Linked DNA regions of Homo sapiens: region 2 is linked to region 1. The links are contacts of gene promoters, found by promoter capture Hi-C in blood cells and fetal thymus (Javierre and others, 2016). All regions are on one chromosome and are shown on one strand. The core of a region is centred on a gene start or on the middle of the fragment in contact, and the rest is flanking DNA. Distances in the headings are between cores, read along the strand shown.

Region 1 (4,588 bases), core at 1,260-3,759:
CGACAGTAGAAAAGTATCTTCTGGGGAATGACTAGCCTACAGAAACCTAAAATACTAAGGTCAGGGACCAAACTAGCCTACAGTGAAGTCCAGTTTAAAAGACTGGCCCTGCTGAGAAAAGTTTTTACTACTCACTTTTAAATTTGATCAGGCAGCCAAAGATCATCAGACATTTGAGGGAAGTATCTACTTTTTTTTTTTTTTTTTTTTTTTTTTTTTTTTTTCAGATGGAGTTTCACTCTTGTCCCCCGGGCTGGAGTGCATTAGTGCGATCTCGGCTCCTTGCAACCTCTGCCTTTCCGGCTCAAGCGATTCTCCTGCCTCAGCCTCCCCAGTAGCTGGGATTACAGGCGCCCACGACCACGCCTGGCTAATTTTCGTACTTTTAGCAGTGTTTAGTAGAAACGGGGTTTCACCATGTTGGCCAGGCTAGTCTGGAACTCCTGACCTCAGGTGATCCACCCACCTCAGCTTCCCAACGTGCTGGGATTACAGGCGTGAACCACCATGCCGGGCCATATCTACTTTTAAAGACAGAATATAAAATACACAGACAATAAAAAGTAAGTTGAATCAATGTTGGGAACTGGCTCCAAAACTGGCCATAAATAAAATCTCTGCAGCACTGTGACATGTTCATGATGGCCATAACGAAACCCGAATGAGGGCAAGGAACACCTGGCCTGAAAACCGCTTAAAGGCGCTCTTAAACCACAAACAATACCATGAGCGATCTGCGCCTTAAGGGCATGTTCCTGCTGCACAGAACTAGCCAGACCCACCCCTTTGTTTCAGCATACCCCTTCGTTTCCCATAAGGGATACTTTTAGCTAATCGAATATCTGTAGAAACAATGTTAATGGCTGGCTTGCTGTTAATAGACACTTGAGTAAATCTCTGTTCCGGGGTCTCAGCTCTGAAGCCTGTGAGACCCCTGATTTCCCACTTTACACCTCTATATTTCTGTGTGTGTCTTTAATTCCTCTAGCGCCGCTAGGTTAGGGTCTCCCCAAACGAGCTGGTCTCGGCAAATCAAGGCTATGCAGGAAGAAAAAACAGATTAAAAAAAAAAAAGAGCCTATTATTGACTCCTCAAAGAGATAAGTGAAGACACTGGGATTGTTAGGCAGCATAGAGAGATCACTTGCAACGGGTGACGATGATAAATTTAAAGTGACACCAGTCATATAGCCATGTTTTTCTCCAGTTACAATGAGCTGCCCAGGTACAAACATAAAGAAGATAGGCAATGAGCTGGATTTAAACGAGGTTTGAGTTTTGCCACTAAATTTCCCATTCGTGTAATACTCTCAAGTTCCATAAGTGACCCATAAACCTTCCAAAACATAACATGTGTTTTCTTAAGAATCATGACCACATAATCTCTTCACGTTAATGCAACTGGGAAAAAAGAGCAATACCATACCTTGTTGGCAGCAACCAAGACTTTATCAAGAAATCGCAACCATTCAAAGATGAAAACTGGTCTTTTTGCTTCGGTGATTTGAGCCAAAGCTTCTTCATTTAGCAATAAACTGTGGGCTAACTCCATTACGGAAGTTTGAAATTCACACCTTAAATTTAACAGAGTAAAAAATACTTGTAAGTATTTTTTAATGTTAAAAGTCAAGCTTAATGGAATATACTCACTAAGAAAAGTAGGACTACTCATTTCATTTGGGGAAAAACTCAACTTCTTTGAGGCAAAACCTGAGAACATACTTTTAAATGACAAAAATACAAACAAAAACAGAAGAAAACTACTTGGTAAGGAAGAGTGACTCATGGAGTGAAAAGAAAATTAAAAGAAATTATTGCCAAAAAAGGCATTATTCCAGAAGAAATATGTCCAGCAACACATATGTCATTTACCCGTTCTATAAATGAAAAAACTGAAGCACTAAGATCAAACACCCCAGCCGGGCTTGACAACCATCCTCCTCTTTTTCTCGTCCAGGGTTCGGTACATAGCACCTTTACCCTCCCGCGCTGCACCTGGCCAGAGGGACTGAGGTCAAAACACCCAGCACAGACATCCCGAACTGCAGGTCTCCAAGACTCTTCCTACGCGGATGGGTGGGGCGGCCAGGCCCGGCGGCCGAAGCGTCAGTGACAACACCAGGCGGTCCGGAATGCACCCGAGAAGCCTCGCGCGCTCGGGGTCTGGCTTCACCTGGCTACTCCAAGAACCGCAAGCGGCGGACCCGGGGAAACACCAAGAGGCCGCCGCAAGCCTCCGTGGGGTTCCGCAGGCTGTCAATAGCACGAGGCGGCAGCTCGGAACTAAGCACGGAGCCAGAAAAGGGAAAATGTTCATTACGAACTCAAATGTCTTCCCCACCCGTCTGAAAATGTACGTCGGACAGGAGTCCGTGCGTGTCAACATGCATGCTTCGGCGACCTCACCTCGTAGTCTGGAAGGGAAGATCAGCTGAGCTCCGGGGGTAGAAGCAGCCACCAAGAGACCCGGATGCCCCACCTCCCGCACTCCTACCTGCAGGAAACAAGGGAAGAGCGCTTGCGCGGAGGGCTGGTCTTGCGCAAGCGCAGTCACCACGTCCTCCTATCCCCACCCGCCGCGAATTTCCAATAGAGTCTGCACTAGGAAACTGGTGGGAGCCGAGGTCCGGAAGTCCGACGCTGGTCGGTGGGCGCATGCGCAGCGCGCGCTCTACGGCGCTGAACCGGGGCGAGCAGAGAGCTGTCAGGTAAGAGAGCTGTCAGGTAAGGGTCTGGGGACAACCGGTAGAATGATAAAAGGCAGAGTGCGCTGGCCATGACTACCGTATCACACCGTCAGCCACTTTTCCATCCGTGGGTGGTTGCGTCTGTGGGACGCTTGCAGCCAGGAGGAACGCGTGAGGGAAGGGATCAGCGGTTCCTGAGCGTAGTATTGAGAGTGGGACGTTTCTTGTCACATTTATACTGTAGGTCCATTTCTCCACTTGTATATGTAATGGGACTCTCAATATGTCTGTTTCCCGACTACGCCCCCTAAAAAAACAAAAACAAACCTACTCCTACAGTCTTCCCACTCTCAAAAAACGTTAACTCCGTTCTTCCATGTATTCAGGCCAAAAACTTAGCGTTATCTTGACATCGTTCTTTACGTACTACCTACAACATCAGCAAATCCTGTAAGCTCTACCTTCAAGTGTACCCCAAATGCGACCACTTGCATTGCTATCACTCTGGTACGAGCCTCCATCATCTCTGCCAGGGTATCGCCTTGTGAAGTTTATGCTTATCTTTGATGGAAATGGATAATGCTAAAGTATATTTTACCAATAGAAAGAGAGCTTTAAAAGCAACCTGTAACCCCATTCAGATGTGCCTGGCACTTTAAAGTTAAGTAGGTCTCTTAAAAACAATGTAATCCTATTTGCAAGGCACTATGACCCGGATTCTTTGTGGTTTTGAAATAGTCATTTAGCCATACTGAACCTTAATTTCTCCAACAGGAAAAACTCTTCCTACCTTGTAGAGTTGTTAGTGGTGGTTAAATGTGATAAAAATGTGTGATATACTGGGTAAGTGTTAAACCATTATGTGTAAAAATGCTGTTATTACCAATGAAGAATCTGAGGTTTAGAGGAAGCGGGTGAATTACCATAAATGCTGTATATAATAGTGCACGTTTTTAACTTATAATAAAAATAGGTAAACTAAACTGTAATGTTTAAAGATGCACACGTGGATGACAAAACTATCGAGAAAATGAAGGAAATGATTGCCATAAAAAACAGAATAGTGACTATTCTTAGAACCAAAAGAGAGTTGCAACTGGATAGGGGACAAAGAGGGCTCCCAGGTGCCTGATAAGGTTCTACTTCCTGATAACTTTTGCTACATAACAAATTATCCCCAAATGTAGCAGCTTAAGATAACTGTAATCATTTGTTATCTCACAGTTTCTATGGGTCAGGAATTTGTTAGCAGCTTAGCTTAGTTTAGCATGGACTTTCTTAAGAAGTTGCAGTGAAGATGCCAGCCCAGGCTGAGTCATTTGAAGGCCTGACTGGAGCAAGAGAATCCATTTCCAAGGTAGCTCACTCCTGTGGCTCATGAGTTTGTGCTGGCTTTTAATAGGAGGACTCAGTTCCAATCGTGTGACCTTCTCCATAGAGCTTCTTGAGTATCCTTATTATGTGACCACTGACTTCCTTCAAGTGAGTCATCTAACTTCAAAGTTAGAATGACCTAAGAGCTGCAGTTATGACCAAAAAATCAACTCCATCATCTCCACAAAATCCTGTTGGTTACACAGGTTAATCCTGTTCACTGTGGAAGGAGACTACACTAAGGATGTAGAAAACCACACAGCAAGAATGACTGGGAGTCATTTTGGAGGGTACCACATGGTTACAAGAATGTTTGACTCACAGAAATGTATTAAGCTGTACATTTGTTTTATGTGTTTTCTGTACGTATTTAAAAAGTGTTTAAAAATGACTTGTTGACATAGGAAAAAGTTATAAAATTACAAATATTAAAGACCCTTTTTATCCTCATTGTTGCTAAACAATTATTAAGCATTTGTGTTTGGGATGCAGTGGTAGGTAGGGAGGATATAGGGGACTTGTCTTTG
Region 2 (4,588 bases), core at 1,138-3,637, 4.6 Mb before region 1:
AGGAGTTTGAGAGTAGCCTGGGTCACATGGCGGGACCCCTTCTCTAAAAAAAAAGAAAAAGAAAAAGAAATTAGCTAGGGTGTGGGTATACACCTGTAATCCCAGCTACTGTGGAGCCTGATGCAGGAGATTGATTGAACCAGTGAGCCCAGGAGGTGGAGGCTGCAGTGAGTCCTGATTGTGCCACTGCACTACAACCTGGGTGACAGAACAACACTCTTTCTCAAATAAATTAATGATCAGGAATAAGTCAGTAGTGACTATTGCCACTTTTTTATCTAATTTTATTCAAATAAACAGTATTTATACATACTTTGTGAGGATTTTGTGAAATTTTGAATGACATAATTAAAATCCCGTGAGGAATAAAGATTAGTCATCATTTGTTTTATTTTTCTTTTAACTAGGCTTTTTAATTTTAACTCTGCAGGCTTTAGCATAATCCGATCCACAGAGTTCACAACAGTGAAGATTTTCATACTAAACTTTTAATATATTTGCTCTAACATTTTCTAAAGGATTATTAATCTTGTTTGTAGTTTAGTCACATCTAATATTTAAGCAGAGATATTTTGAGGTTTATACGCCACAGAAACTGTTTAGGAATTTTCTCCACCTCACTTCACCACACATATACCCTGTACATTTTTGTGGCCTAGTTTATTTAAGAGGGTCCACAAAGCTGTGGCCCAAGAAGAATGTTAGTTTATGTTTGTTTTTAATAAAGGCTCTGGTATTCTGTGAAAGATCCAGCAGCTCTTTAGTTAGATTAATGATATAATAATATACACTGAAAGAAATACTCGGTATAAAGAAGGCATTCAGTTTTATCAGATGAGTGTTTTGCAAATACTATCTATTGGTCTTTGGACTCTGTTTTCACTTTATTAAGTAGCCTTCAAAAAGCAGAAGTTTTAAAATTCTAGATGTAATCTAAATTGTCAACTTTTATGTATTTTTTGTTGTTGTTACCCTCCTCACACAAAGTCTTAAATACCCTCCTCACACAAAGTCACACAGAATATTATGTTTTCTTCTAGAAATTTTACAATTTTATGTTTTATATTTAGGCTTGTTATTTTTTGCTTTCAGGATGAAGTTTTTTTTTTTTTTTTTTTTTGCCTGTGGATGTCCAACTGTTCCTATATCTTTGTTTCTTTTTTTGAGACGGAGTCTCTCTCTGTCACCCAGGCTGGAGTGCAGTGGTACGATCTCGGCTCACTGCAAGCGCCGCCTCCTGGGTTCACGCCATTCTCCCGCCTCAGCCTCCTGAGTAGCTGGGACTACAGGTGCCTGCCATCACGCCCTGCTAATTTTGTTTTTGTAGTTTTAGTAGAGACGGGGTTTCACCGTGTTAGCCAGGATGGTCTTGATCTCCTGACCTCGTGATCAGCCTGCCAAAGTGCTGGGATTACAGGCATGAGCCACCGCACCCCGCCTTCGTAGACCATTTTTTGAAAATACTTTCCTTTTTTCATTGGATTCCCTTTGTAGTTTTTCAAATATCAATCAATGATACTTGTTTTGATCTAATTCATACACTTTTTTTTTTTTGAGACAACTTTGCTCTGTCGCCCAGGATGGAGTGCTGTGGCGTGATTCAGACTCACTGCAACCTCCACCTCCTGGGTTCGTGCAATTCTCATGCTTCAGCCTCCTGAGTAGCTGGGATTACAGGCCCATCACCATGCCTGGCTAATTTTTGTATTTTCAGTAGAGATGGGGTTTTGCCATGTTGGCCAGGCTGGTCTCAAACTCCTGGCCTCAAGAGATCCACCTGCCTCCATTTCCCAAATTGCTGGGTTTACAAGCGTGAGCCACCACACCCAGCCTCATTTGTTCATACAGTGTATTATATAGAATTTATGTTTTTGTCTGTTTTTTATGCATTACCTCACTGTCTTAGTTCCCTTACAGTATTTTTTGAAATTTAGTAGTGTAGGCTCTCCACCTTTGTTCTTTATTTTTAGAGTTATTTTGGCTGTTTTAATTCCATTCCTTTTTCCTTATAAATTTTACAATCAGCTTATTGATTTTCCAGAAAAAAATCATTTTGAGTGAGATTGCATCATTCTGTAGATCAGTTTGGGCAGATGTATTGCTTGTTTGGCCATATTGTCAGAGAATACGGTTAGTTTAATTTCCTCCTTTCTTATGCATATGTCTCATGGGTTCCCCTCCCCCCATCCAGTTGTACTCGTTCGGACTTCAAGTATGCTGTTGAGTACATATGGTAAAAGTTACTCTTCCTTCTTTTTCTCAATCTTAAGATCTTATGAAACATTGTCTTTCATAATTAGATATGTTACTAGCTGGAGCTCTTTTTTAGATATGTGATAGTAAGTTGAGGAAGTTCCAGTTTGTTTCTAACTTGCTAAGACCTTAAAAAAATTATGAATGTCTCTGGATTTTGTTAGATGTTTCCCTGCATCTGTTGAAATGAACATAGATTGTTTCTTCTTTCATCTGTTCATACGTTGAATTATATTGGTGTTTTCTAAAGAGTTGAGATCTCACTATGTTGCCCAGGCTGGCTTTGAACTCCTGAGTTCAAGCAGGCTTTCAGTCTCATTCTGTTCTTAGCTGGCCCAATCGGCATATGCCACTACACCAAGTTTGATTTTTTTTGCTAAGTGTCAGTTAATGTGCATTCTCAAGGTAGACACCCTTGGTCATAACATATCAGTCCATTTTATAACTTGCTGAATTTATTCTCTGAATTTATTCTGAAAGAGGTTGTGTAATATGTGTATTGTCACTTACTTAAGTATTTGGTAGCATTTGCCATTGAAGCATCCTGTGGCTAGAGTTTTCTTTGCCCCAAAAATTTTCAACTTATTTTCTAGGTCTTGGACTATTCAGGTTTTCTCTTCTTGATTGAGCTTTGGTAATTTTGTGAAGGAAGTTGTTCCTTTACATTGTTGTATTTGTTAGTGGAAATATGTATATGTATTAATGTTTATAGGATCTATAAGTTTCCTTCATTTCTGATGTTGGTAATTTTTATCTTTTTTTGGGGTCATTCTGGCTAGAAGTTCATCAATATTATTTCAAAAAAAGGCAGCTTATAGATTATTTCTTCTTTTCTACTTTCTTTGAATTTAATTTGATCTTTATGGCTTAGATAATTGATTTTAGACCTTTCTTTTCTAATACAAGCATTTGACAAAGTCAGAATTGGTCTATATAGACTATATAGACTACATACATTTAATGTAATTATTGACATGCTGGATTAAAATTGATCATTTTGCTATTTTTCTATTTATTTCATCTATTTTTGATTCCTTTTAAGAAATCTTTTTCTGTTGACTTTTGAATTAAGCAACTTTTAAAATAATTTCATTTCCATCCTTATTTATAACTGAATTTCTTATTTATTTTTGAGACAGTGTTTGTTTGCTCTGTCGCACAGGTTGGAGCGTAGTGGTGCGATCTTGGCTCTCTGCAACCTCCGCCTTCTGGGTTCACGTGATTTTCGTGCCTTAACTTGCCGAATAGCTGGGATTACAGGCTTCTGCTATGCTACTACACACGGCTAATTTTTGTATATTTTGTAGGCGTAGTTTCACCAGGTTGGCCAGGGTAGTCTCGAACTCCTGAGCTCAAGCAATCCACCCGTGTCACTGGCATTACAGGCATGAGCCACTGTGCCCGGCCTATAACCGAAAATTTTTAATATTAGTTGTCCTAGTTTTACAAGATATACCTTTATTTAATCACATTCCACTTTAAAATATTATTCCGTTCATGTATAATGTCAGAACTTAACAGTGTAGTTTCAGTTCCTTTCTTCCGTCTTTTGTGACATAGTTGTCATGTTTTTACTGTTTATATATGCTATAAACACAATACTGTGCAACCTTTTTTTTATTTTTTATTTTTTTGCTTTAGACAGTCTTTGTTTGTTTTTTGAAATAGACTTTCGCTCTGTCACCCAGGCTAGAGTGCAGTTGTGTGATCTCAACTCACTGCAACCTCCTCCTCCTGGGTTCATGCAATTCTCATGCTTCAGCCTCCTGAGTAGCTGGGATTACAGGCCCATCACCATGCCTGGCTAATTTTTGTATTTTCAGTAGAGATGGGGTTTCGCCATGTTGGCCAGGTTGGTCTCAAACTCAAAAGTATTCTTTTGCCTTAGTCTCCTGAGTAGCTGGAATTAACAGTCACATGCCATCATGCCTGGCTAATTTTTGTATTTTTAGTAACAATGAGGTTTCACCATGTTGGCCAGGCCGGTCTTGAACTTCCTGGCGCCACAAGTGATCTGCCCACCTGGGGCTCCCAAAGTGATGGGATTACAGGCATGAGCCACTGCACCTGGCCTAATTTGCCTTTTTCTTGCTGTTAGACTGACTTGCTGTTAGACTTTTCAGCATTCTATATCTTAGGCATAAACAGAATTTGAAGAGCATTCAATTTTGATACTTGAGAATGATTTGATTGAATCTTAATTTTTATGTATCATTATCAGTAGGAAATGTTTACAATAGCGTTATTTGAGAATGGAAAAAATTAGAACTCATTTCATTATAAGAAGTGCCTTGTGATTTTGAAGTATTTTTGTCTGTAGCTTCAAAATCACTTC

The links. Contacts are between HindIII fragments. The CHiCAGO score rates a contact against its expected background, and 5 or more counts as called.
Region 2: a fragment that was not itself captured here is called in contact with the fragment with the promoter of HEATR5B in region 1 in 1 of 17 cell types (M1 macrophages); the score reaches 7.5 in M1 macrophages.

The regions. Positions count from the first base shown.
Region 1 is chr2:37,081,863-37,086,450 of GRCh38, forward strand. HEATR5B (HEAT repeat containing 5B) reads right to left here and starts at 2,510. Exons shown (of 36, transcript NM_019024.3): 1 at 2,407-2,510; 2 at 1,427-1,574. The coding sequence starts at 1,552. It overlaps GPATCH11 (G-patch domain containing 11), which reads left to right and starts at 2,656. Exons shown (of 9, transcript NM_174931.4): 1 at 2,656-2,708. RefSeq lists enhancers at 2,018-2,117, 2,588-2,747. The HindIII fragment of the contact is 3,413 bases long and covers 1,630-4,588 here.
Region 2 is chr2:32,494,692-32,499,279 of GRCh38, forward strand. All of the region lies in intron 45 of BIRC6 (baculoviral IAP repeat containing 6), which reads left to right. Among named protein-coding and RNA genes, the nearest start is that of MIR558, 35 kb to the right of the region's middle. The HindIII fragment of the contact is 6,283 bases long and covers 1-4,588 here.